Linked DNA regions of Homo sapiens: region 2 is linked to region 1. The links are contacts of gene promoters, found by promoter capture Hi-C in blood cells and fetal thymus (Javierre and others, 2016). All regions are on one chromosome and are shown on one strand. Each heading gives the region's core, a stretch centred on a gene start or on the middle of the fragment in contact. The rest is flanking DNA. Distances are from core to core; before and after follow the strand shown.

Region 1 (5,722 bases), core at 688-3,187:
GCCCAGCTCCAGCAACCTGATGTAACATCTCCATGCCTCAGTTTCCTTGTCTATTAAGAAAAAGGTGGGGAAGAAGTAGTAGACAGACCTACTTTACTCATGGAGCCATTGTGAGTAATCAAGCTAAAACACACAGAGTGTTTAGAACAGTACATGCAAATCAGCGTTTAATGTTCTGAAGACACTGGCCCATCCCAAGATGAGGCCCATGACTCTGGCAAGCTTCCAGACACAACTGTCCCCCTGGGTGGGCCCTTTAGCTTTCCATTTCTCCATACTCCCTCTACTCCCAAGTGTCTTACACAGAGTCCAACCCATTTGTACCACCTGCCACGAGGGGACCACCTGTAGGGCTATCCTTTTGGCCTTGGACTTTGCAACTCCTGGCATTAAGAGGCAAGCAAGCAGCTCCAGTCAAAGAAATTATCATGTTCTCCCCAGTCATACTCAATAACATCTATGTGAAACACCCCACGGGGAAGTCAAGAAGCAACAAATTATCATGTTCTCCCCAGTCATACTCAATAACATCTATGTGAAACACCCCACGGGGAAGTCAAGAAGCACAAAAGGGACCCGGAACAATTAATGGGTGTTTTTGAGACTGTCAGAGTAAACAGCATCTCCTGCAATAAATCAGGGAAGTCTTGAGAGTCGCACCTTAGAGATACGGTTCCTGCCAAATCATCAATTTAATCAGCAAAATGTTTACATCTGGAGGACTCTGCAATGTGCCCTGGTAATAACCAGGCTCTAGCGGCTCCTCCTCACATCCACTTGTCCTTAAGTTTATTTACCTACCAGATCTCACTGCAGCTGAAGCTAACAAGCCTCTCTATGCACATCAGTATTCTTAGCCCCTCAATCAAAGCATCAGTGAGGACTATTGGGGCCCGCTGGGGGTCTGAAGAAGAGTCCCTCTGGCAGGGAGAAATGGCGAACTTCTCTAAACAAGCTCTGTGTCTCACAGGTCTTTGCCAAGGATCAACAGTGACTAGCAAGTCTGTGAGACAGAAAGTAAGAAAATACTCTTCATGAGGGAAATAACTGTTTGGGTATGTGTCAGTCACTACTCCATCTCCAATGTCCAGAACACTGCCTCCTACGTAGCAAGTACATATAAAGCAACTAGAATAGTAACGGGCATGTCATAAGCCAGTTATAATTATTATAACTAAATGTATAGCTATGTTTTTAAGGCAAGCTGAACTTTACTAGTTGTTACCCATAATTTGGCAATGGAACAGCCTAAGTAAATACACTTAAAATGCAGGAACCTTATAAAGTAAGCTTTTCAGCCCCTTGTCTTCTTTCTTTCTGGTTCTGAGTTATACACTTTGAAGAGGACTTTGTAGCCATCTTCTGAAAACTTCCAAATCTAATGGCACTAATAGTCAATGGGAAAGACAGTGGAGCACTGCAGGACATCACCAATTATATTACAGAGCCTGAAAGGAACTAAAAATATGAAGACTTTCAAAATAGTAACACAGCACAAACACCAAAATGTTAACACACGAGGAGTTTATCTGAAGTCCTACTTGTGATCTATTTATCAGTAATGTTCAAATATGGGAAAATTAATGTGGGAAAAATGACAATGCAACACCTCTTATCTAGAATATGTCGACATTGGTGTCAAAATACTTCTTTATTCTGTTAATTCCGCATTTCCAGGTAGCTCCAACTACCCATCTCTGCACGTTATACTGTGAAGCTGCTGACAATTTTCTGAGGGTGCTTCAGAAAGAACCATATCTTACACATCAGTTCTCCACCTCATACCACATGTTGAATTTGACAATGGCAAAGGTTAGAAAAGAAAACAGGTTTTTGCCTGGCTGTGCATCAGATGATGTAGGGATGTGGGGAAAAGTAGGAGGAGAAATAAGAAAGCAGGACTGTTTTTGCATTACTGGAGGAAAGGAACTAGCTCAGAAGTCAGCCTAACACCCACAGAGATTAAAACGTCTCTTCCTTCCTCTTTGTTTCCACGTCCCAGTCTTCAATAAATTCTATCTGACAACAGCAGCAGAGGGACCCACTATCTTGTGGTTTCTGTCAAGTTCCTGATTTTCATCCGTAGTTGAAGATGAGCAAGAACTCTGTAACAGTGTTACCTTGGAGCCTACAATGAGAGGTATTTCAAAATGAGTGAAGCATGACTCTCACAGATGAAGGCCTAGACGCAGGTAAGAAAACAGCTTTTCCATGAAATGACTTGCATGTATGTGAATGGTGCATGGGAACAGAAAAGATTTCTGAGCTGGGCAGCAACAAAGCTGAGGAACACTGAACCATTGCCACTCACATTTTTCTCAGTAGGTTACTTTTTGTTTGACAACTATAATTGGTATATTAATATATTTCCCCATGCTAATATGGGGATCCAATACTGAAATATTATCATTTATGATTTAGGATTTCCAATCGTGGCTGTCAAAATATATCTGTGATGAAGAGATATCAAGGAAAATGTTTAAAAGGTATTCATCCAGGACAAACATTTCAAAAGCTCGTAAATGTGTATTAAAATTGCTTCTCAAAACTACAAAATCGATTAGCATAATACTTAGGTCAGTATGTCTTTGTTTGCAATTGCATATGTGTACAGATATATAGTTGCATTTACTTGTACATACACTTATATAGGTAAAAGTTTTTATCTTTGTCATTATTAGGATAAGTTAACCCCATTAACACCTACTAAAATAAAATGCCTTTAAATTGTAAATCACAGAAATATCTGTCCTAGGCATAGCAAATATTTGAGTTCATATGCTACTTATTTATAGTCTATGACTAATCAGCTAAATTACTTACAATTCTTTAAACATTATAAATTAAATTACATTCAGGAGAATTAGCACAGACCCACAATGTCAGCTTATTCAACCAAGCCCATGCAATCCATCTTGTCTACATATACTTTGTTAACCAAGGACAATCAATCCTACGGAGAAAATGAATCAAAGATCACACTAGTAAAAAAATAAATAGTTTGTATATTCATCTTTCTAAAACATACAAACTTGATAATCAGTTTTAGCACTAAAAAAAAACCTAGCCATTAAGTTAAAAAGAAAACAATGCACTCGGAAAATACCAAAATGGCATATTTTATGATTTGTAAACATGCAATGAATTTTATATTTCGGTAAAATTTATGAATACTATATATACAAACATGCATACAATTGTGTGCACACAATTAACACATTGGTATATATGAATGAACTCTATATTGTCATGTCTGGAAAAAAAAAAAACAAGGAGGCCAGGCATGGTGGCTCACACCTGTAATCCCAGCACTTTGTGAGGCCAAGGTGAGTGGCCTCAGGAGAGGCTGGTCAGGAGTTCAAGACCAGCCTGGCCAACGTGGTAAAACCCCTATCTCCACTAAAAATACAAAAATTAGCTGGGTGGTAGTGGTGCATGCCTGTAATCCCAGGTACTCAGGAGGCTGAGGCAGGAGAATCGCTTGAGTCTGGGAGCCAGAGGTTGTGGTGAGCTGAGATCGGGCCACTGCACTCCAGTCTGGGCGAGAGAGTGAGACCCTGTCTCAAAAACAAAAACAAACAAAAATAAAACCAAAAGAACAGTGGGGAGATTCCAAGGTACTCAAAGCATGAAGACACAGGGGAAGTGGGCCGGGTGCAGAGGAAGAAGTATAATTTCCTGAAGTATTACGGTGCCCACTTCACAGTTGAAGCAGGTACAGAGGGTGTGACTATCCTGAGCAAGGCCACCTATGATGCTTCTAAAGTGCTGAACAGAAGAAGAACACGGCTCCCTAGAAGAACGTTCACTCTATAAAGTGCTTCTGAGTGAATTTAGATGTTGAGGCTTCCCTAAGCCTAAGGCTCTATGAACTCAGAAGTCACAGGTTTATTCCATTTGGCCCCAGGATATCCTTAGAAGTTAGGTCGGTCACAAGTGAGCTGTTTCAACCTCCCAGTGTGAGCAGTCTCTAGAATACCAAAAACAGACCAGTCCAGGAGGTAGGCTGACACCAACACAAGCATATTCTGCCATCATCATGAGCATCCTCACCTGCAGAAGGCTGTCTAGTGGAGGATGATGGACAATAAGGAGTGTTTCCTTTAATTGAAAATTATATCAGTACAAGAGTGCCAAGTTTGTTTGGATAGAGCAGTGGATCTCAAAGTGCAGATACTATACCAGCTGAATCAACATCACCAGTGAGCTTGTCAGACATGCAAATTATTGACCCCAAACCTACAGAATCAGAAACAATGGGGGTGGAGCCCAGCAATCTCTTTTAACAAGCCCTCCAGGTAATTCTGTTGCACATTCAGTTTTGGGTGACCCCATGTCCTGGGACAGATCCAGTTTTCACCTGTTGTCTGGGCATAATTGAAAATAGTGCCTCCTTTCTATCTCAAAAGTGTCCTTGATTGTATAATAAATTAATTATGATCATCAATATGATCACCCTGCCAGTTCATACTGGATGCTAAGAAGGCATTTCATTGGCCAGATGCTGTCTACTACTTGGGATTTCAAATTAGCTTCAAGTCTGGTGCTACACCCATAGCCTCCCCACCATCACCCCGCAATACTAAAAGATGCATTGCCTCCTAAAAGTCTGAGCAGCACAGCTAGATAAATCAACTTCAGTAAAAATATCCTATCTTAATGAGAAAAAATACCTACAACCAAACTATGTAAAATCTATTTTAAATTCTCAGCTTCCTAAGTAGCATGAGAATCAGGTCTCCAAAACCCTCTTTACTAAATTTTCTGGTTCTTCTTTACAGGGAATTTTCTTTTCCTCCCTAGCACCCTTAAAAAGGATAAATCTAGTAATTAATGAATGCTATTTTTATAGTAATCATTTGGTTACATTAATTCACCGAAACACCAAGTTTACCACAGCAAAGCTTCTCAATCCACCTGTTCTTTAAAGTCAAAGTGAAATACTGGTCATATGCTTTTAGATCTGATTAGATTCCTTTGAAATTTTTGTCTTTACTCGGTATAAATTAAATTGCTAGCTTTTTATTTTTCACTGAAACCTCCCATCTGTTGTTTTTGAAAAGCATCAAAGGCCTTAGATATCATGTTCTGACCCCTCATCATTCAAATAAAAGAACAGCCAGGGACGGGTGCTGGCTTCTACCCAATTATATGACATCTGCTTTTGAGGTTAAGATACCAAAGAAAAGAGGAAAAGATCAGTTAGTTGGCTTCTGAGGTTGGCCCAAAGCGATCTGTACACTTGTGGTGTGATCACTTGGGGAAAAAAATCTGATCCTCGATACTCTCCAGGATCATACACACGCAATTATTTTCATCACATCACTTATAGCCTCTAGACTCTAGGAGCCATTTATACCAAGCAGATGGGAAATGTGCCACCTTCTATAGTGGGAGAGACACCTGGCTGGAAAGAACTCACCTGTTGCTGATGTGATCTTCCCAGTGAGTCGAGCCCTAAGGTCAAAGGTTGGTAGGAGAGCTCACACAAGGTTTCATCTAAGAACATTTCCATCCTGCTACAGATGATGAATGAAATCCCCTTCTCACTCTAGGGATATTTTGGCCATTTATTCATTCAACACTGATTCCTTACAATGAGGCAGCCAACATTCTAGGAATGGTAGAGATGGTGTGATGAAAAGGTTCTGGGCCTCTGGTGGCTTACATTCTAACAGACATATCCACAAACCTTAACATCATCACTCCTAGGAATTGATAG
Region 2 (6,281 bases), core at 81-2,580, 630 kb before region 1:
CTGCCACCATGATGTTGGGTGAATATCCAGATTCCTTCTACATGAGAAGCCAACTTTTTTCTCATGATGCATTTCTCATTGTTGTCCTGCATGCAGTGGGTTGATCCAGTGGGCTTCAACTCTTCTGCTTGGAGAATAAGGTCTTTAGAGGAGCATTCATGACATCTCGGTGTTATGATAGTATGTTTCTCACCTTTACTCAAAGTAGAGGATACACTGGAACTACTCTTAAGGAGAGGACAACACCTTCTTTCTCCTCTTCCTTGCTAATGGAGAAGAAAATGGGAACTCTTATTGCCCTCATTTGGACCATTGAGTCATGAGTTTTATGTAAATTTTGGGAGTTTGTGGGTAGGGAGTCAGGGGAGTGGGGTTGCAGAGCTTCTTCTGTGAAGCTTCCTGATTGACAAATGGTTTTTAAGAACTGCTTGATAGCTCCACTCCTCGTCTCTGGGTCTCTGGCTCCACCATATATGCAAGATGAAAACCCAGTTGATATACTTTCAGACATGGGATTCCATTTTACCTATCAAGTATTTTATGCTTATTTGAAACTAAATTCTACAGGCTTTGTAACAGGGCATCTTTAATGTTTTTCTATATAATTGCTGTGATAAATCAACATAAAAGATGGTAGACAAACCCCTTATAGCTTCTCCTGCAACTTAGGAGAAGCAGCCTACAAACAGCCATGGAGGGGCATAAGGCTCTGGTAATTCCATTAAGAGTCAAAGAGGAAATCTAGTAGCAACACTCTTAGTGACATTGGATGCCCTGACTTGAAAACCTATTGTATTTTCTGCCTCCTAGGAGAGTTCCCATGTGATTAATAAACTTGTTAAGTCTCTTTGGCATGGACCTCCTATGGAATGATAGGAACTTTTGATCTCCACCAAGTTTATACTTGGTGGAGATTAATTGATAAAAATATTTCCAGATTGACTAAAAATAAAATAAAATTGCTTTGGTTGGAAAGAAAACAAGTGGAAAATTTCAGGTTGGAATTATCTGGGCATAGAAATTATAAACTGATTCATAACTTGGAGAAAGTTGTCCAGATTTTGTCTCTCTGATTCTAAACACAGGAAAGTCAATGCATACTGATTATAGAGTGTAATGGCTGAGTCATTCCCAGATACGCTGATTTGCTGGATAATATTTTTCTCTGAGAAAATAGTCACATTTTGTGTGAACATTAGCTGCTGTATCCTACAATATGATTGATTCTGGCATGTTTCCTCCCTAGAGGAAATTATTATGCTTCATTCTCAGCACAATGGAGCAGTATTTCTGGCCAAGACCAACTGCTTCCATAACTAATGCCTTGGGCATGATGACACTATATCATATACCATTAATTGGTGATCATTTATTTCACGCTCTGAATAAGGTTCTCCTACTTTTGGGGAAGATGTAGATACAGTTTGCTAGAATGCTTACCTTTCTCGCTCCACTCTGATCCATACCTCCAAATCTGCCTCAAAGGCCCTATTATCAGTCCTTCATTTCCACCTAGAAGGAGGCTAGATTTCAAGTTGCTTAATTCTCAGTTGCTGTTAGTAGAATCTCTGGTGGAAGCACTAGATTATCAATCATGTCTCTGTCCACCCCAACTGTGTGAGGCTCTTTCAGTTATCATCCCAAATAGATTTTACTACTTCACTAAAGAGGGTATCAGTGTCTGAGGATGATACCTGCCTAACAGAGCATTTGCCTTCTCTGGTTTAACCTTGGCCAGCAACAACTCTCATAGCCAGTGAACCTTGTAGTACTGTCCCACCCAATTTAGAACAGTTAGGACATAAATAAGAAGTAAGAGTGTTGTTACTGGTCAACTCTTAAAATGGTCTTTCAAACACATACACCTTAAATTTATTCATGTAGCCCACCTCTTCGATAAAAAGTCTACTTTGTGAATAAGAGGTTGAGCTTTTAGTCAAGGACTAGCAAATGCCAGAGTTTCCATTCTCCAATTATTAAATTTTTAAAAGTATATTACCACTCTTTCAACTTCTGAGCCACCATCAATGTGTGATGTGCAATGGTTATTAAAGTCAGCAGAATTTAAATTGAGATGTTTGATTAAGACAAACATGCTTAATCTCACTAAATATTAGAGTCACCTGGGGAAGCCTTAAAAGGAAAATCGATTACTTGAATTGGAATTTCTGAATTAAAAAAAAAATACCTCACCAGGTTGTTCTAATAGTCAGCTAAGGGGGAGAACACCTGGTTGAGGGTTTAGACTACCTACTCCAAGCTTCCCTGGAGGTGATAGGGTCACTCGTCTCTCTCCCACAGCCACTATGGGCATCTTTGAACACATGGGAGGGAGCTTTGTGCTAACCAAATGCTTACAAGTCAAATGAATGAGGATCCAGGTGTAATCTTTCACTGACAGCATGAAACACCAGCTAAACTTTCAGAGCATCTTTACTTCTCTAAATCTCCTGAAAGGAGGCCAGCAGATAAGGACAACAGTTGCTCTGATGAGAAACTATATCTACTGTAAAGTTAGCAGACGAATAGGCGCAGGCACAACAGAACAGAACCCTACTTCTTAGGGAACATATTCAATTCTGACTCATTGAGATAGTCTGTCACTCTAAGGATTTAGTTTTTTTTTTTTCTCCAAAGTCTTCCCAAATACAATCACATTATCTAAATATTCTAACACTTGTAAATCAGTCACTGGTAGTAAATGGTATCTGGAGAAACCCCAATCCATTGTTTTAGGATAGGAAAAAATTATTCTGAACAAATGAATACTAAATTCTTCATACCTGTTCTGGCCTCCTAATAGCCATTCTTTGAAACTAACAATAACTACTGTCTCTACTAGAAAGCCCAGGGCATACTAACAACAAGGTATATCGGTCGGACTTAGGCCATTTGTTTAGTATATAATAGTCAATATCTATTTTATTTCTAGATTTTTCAGTAGTCATTTGGACTCCAAAAGTCAGTTCTGTGATGATTACAAGGTCTTTCGTATGGTATCATGATTTTTTAACCATACTTTATAAATGATCTAGTGTCTTATAATTGTATTTAATACTATTCTTTTTTCCAACAACCCATCCCAGTCTTAGAGGCTGTTGCATCCCTGTCAGGTAGATCCCTATTTTGTCTCCTTCTAATGCACAATTCTAAGGAGTTATTGAAGTCAAAATTGTCTAAACTCAGCTTTCAGGCTGCTCCCATTTGAAATTACTAGCTGGGACATGTTGGAAATTACACCTTTGGGTAAGTCTTCTGATATCTGCCAGTCTCCACAATCATGTGGATAAGTGTGGTCATATTCAGTTATTAGAAAAACTTCACTGAAAATTCTAATTCAAAGCCTTTTCTGCCTTAAGATTATACCCTCCTTTCTCTTCTGCTCTCAGATTCCTCTAAGGTCAGATTCATGTTGCTGTAGTCCCTGGTCTTTGACGTCATGTAGGTAACAAGTCTCCTTACAGTGGCCTGCATGGGCAACACGTATGAGTTCCTTGGAGGACCTGTAGGAAGTCTCCTTGATGCAGAGTTATCTGGGTCTTGTGTTTTCAAGCAGACGTTTTTGAGCCACTCAGCAGCTCCAACTTGTGCTTCTATGATCATCTTACTTAGGTGATGGGTCTCTGAACTGAGGACTAGTAAAATGGTTCAAGCCTAATTCCCCTTGATCAATGAAAAACTTGCATGTCTTTGCCAGGCTAATAAAAGTTACATTGCTTTTGCTTCTTATATATTTGCTGATATGGAGTAATCTAGCAAGCTTTTAGTCTTCTCAGTCTTCCGGGTAAGAAACAGTTTGAGTCACTACATTTACATATACATTCAAACTTCCAGGAGTGTATGTCTGGTCCCCTAAGAAGTCTCTTATTTTGCTCTATCCTTTAGATTGACATCTTCTTTGCTCATTACGTAGCAGAAAATAAGGGATCATCCTCATTTAATCTTCAAGAACTTCCTTTGAGAAAGAAACTAATTAATTGCCCTATTATTGGTCTGGTATTAAACCCTCCTTCTATTCTATCTGCTGTGGCTAAAGAGATGGATTGTGTGGTAGCTTAGTCTGATCAGGCTGCTACAACAAAATACCTTAGAATAATTTATAAACAACAGAAATGTATTGCTCATAGTTGTGGAGTCTGGGAAGCTCAAAATTAAGATTCGGTGTCCAGTGAAGGCTCATTCTTTATAGATTATGCCAATGGCAGAAGAGGCTAGAGGCTTCCTCCACCTTCTTTTATAAGATTATCAATTTTATCCTAATCACTTCATAAAGGCCCTACTTCTTAATAGTACCACACTGAGTATTAGGTTGCAACATAAGAATTTTGAAAGAAAATCTACATTCAGGACATAGCATGTGATCCTTGTTCATTTAGGAGTTTATCTGGGAGCAGAATCTCTAATTACAGGGCATGGGCAGATTTGTTAAGGTTGAGTGAGGCAGAGTGGAAAAGAGTGGTTTTATGTCCACTGTACTTCCAAAGTCTAATTCTTCAAAATACAGACATCCAGGGTAGAAGAGAAAAAACAAGAAATTTAGATACCTAAAGGGATTAGATTTTTAATAAGACCTGGTTATTATAAATTATTTACCAGCCTTACTAACTCATCTAACAAGACAAGTAAAATTAGTGTAAAGATACTGATTAGATTTTCTAAAGTGATAAAAATTAAATGAAAGATGGAAGTTTCTTACAGTAATTAACATTTACCATCAGTTAAAAAAAATCCTGATACTAGATGAAAGGATTTTGTTTTATATTTTAAAGATCTATATTTGTAGTGAAAAATAGACCCTATACTCTTTTAATAGGTTTTTGGATTTTACCTAATATGCTCTATGTGAGTCTCTGTTACTTACAACCAATGACCCCAGACTAAAATATGAAGCATTGTAGCCTTAAGTAGATCTTCAGACAACCACATCTTTTTATTTTACTAATCAATATGTAACAGCAGTGAGGGAATACTTGGATTAATGAGACCAGTTTCCAGAGGGTTAAAGATGAACATCTTAAGATGCAAATGTAGGAAAAACACAAGGTTTATGTGTTAATCATCCCAACAGCAAATAAAATAAAAACTGTGCATTGACCCACGCTGGACTTAGGAACATTCTAAAGAAGTTAGTAATATGAGGGGCATGTCTCACTTTCAGTCATGTATTATTGCTATTATATGTCAATATCTATTTTTTTATAGCCCATATAATTCTTTGCATGTATTATCTTCTTTATGAAACTATGAAGCTCTAAGGATGTGGTTCCTAATTCCTCTCCATATCGTCTCATCAATCAGCATGAAGTCTTTATTTAGTATGTGTTTAATAGATTATTTGTTGAGTGAGTCAAAAGGCTAGGGGAATAGGATTAACTTGACACCTATGGAAGATTCTAGCATTCAGGGATATCATATTTAAAAACAAAGGGGAGATTCCTTAAAAGAATAGACTCCCTGAGATAGCATCTTATAGGTAGAGTAGTGGTCGTCAGCTAGAACCAGTTTAATCCCAGGGGAAATTTGGCAATATCTGGAGACATTTTTCGTTGTCACAGCTGGAGTAGGGGGTGCTCTTAGCATGTAGTGGGTAGAGGCCAGGGATGCTGCTAGATATACAACAATGCCCAGAATATCCTCCAGCCCACCAATAAAGAATTATGTGACCTACAGTGTCAATAGTACCAGGGTGACAAATACTGAGCTACAGTTGTTTGTGCTCAGACCTTTTCTTGCTGAGTGAAGCAGGAAGAAAACCTCTGGACTTCAGTTGTTAACACCAACAGCTGGGGCCGGAGGCTTCTATTTGTCCTGCTATAGAAATCTTCCTCTTATTTCTTTTAGTTATAGAACATACTGAGTTTTAGCTGGGGCCTTGGCTACCAGTTAGAGACTATATGTCTCATTTTCACTTGCAGTCAGGATTGATGGTGGGACTAAATTCTAGCAAATGGAAAGGAGTGGAATGGACATGTGCTTCATGTGGTTAAAAGAGGAGGCCTTTTGCACTCTCTCTTCTCTCCTTCCTGAAACTGATAATGTGGATGTGGAGGGTGTATTAGGCCATTCTTGCATTGCAATAATGAAATACCTGAGACTGGGAAATTTATAAAGAAAAGAGGTTTCAAAAGGCAGAAGGCAGGAAAATAAAAGCAAACAAACACCCACACTCCCCGTCACCACCACCAAAAAAAGAAAAAAAAAAAAAAGAGATTTAATTCGCTCACGATTCTGCAGGCTTTACAGGAAGCATGGTGCTGGCATCTGCACAACTTCTAGGGAAG

What was found. Contacts are between HindIII fragments. The CHiCAGO score rates a contact against its expected background, and 5 or more counts as called.
Region 2: a contact is called between a fragment that was not itself captured here and the fragment with the promoter of P2RY14 in region 1, in 1 of 17 cell types (monocytes). The highest score is 5.1, in monocytes.

What each region holds. Positions count from the first base shown.
Region 1 is chr3:151,274,757-151,280,478 of GRCh38, reverse strand. It overlaps P2RY14 (purinergic receptor P2Y14), which reads left to right and starts at 1,937. Exons shown (of 3, transcript NM_014879.4): 1 at 1,937-2,192. The region is part of intron 16 of MED12L (mediator complex subunit 12L); the gene reads right to left. The HindIII fragment of the contact is 3,614 bases long and covers 1,293-4,906 here.
Region 2 is chr3:151,904,742-151,911,022 of GRCh38, reverse strand. All of the region lies in intron 1 of AADACL2-AS1 (AADACL2 antisense RNA 1), which reads left to right. Among named protein-coding and RNA genes, the nearest start is that of AADACL2-AS1, 20 kb to the left of the region's middle. The HindIII fragment of the contact is 1,865 bases long and covers 398-2,262 here.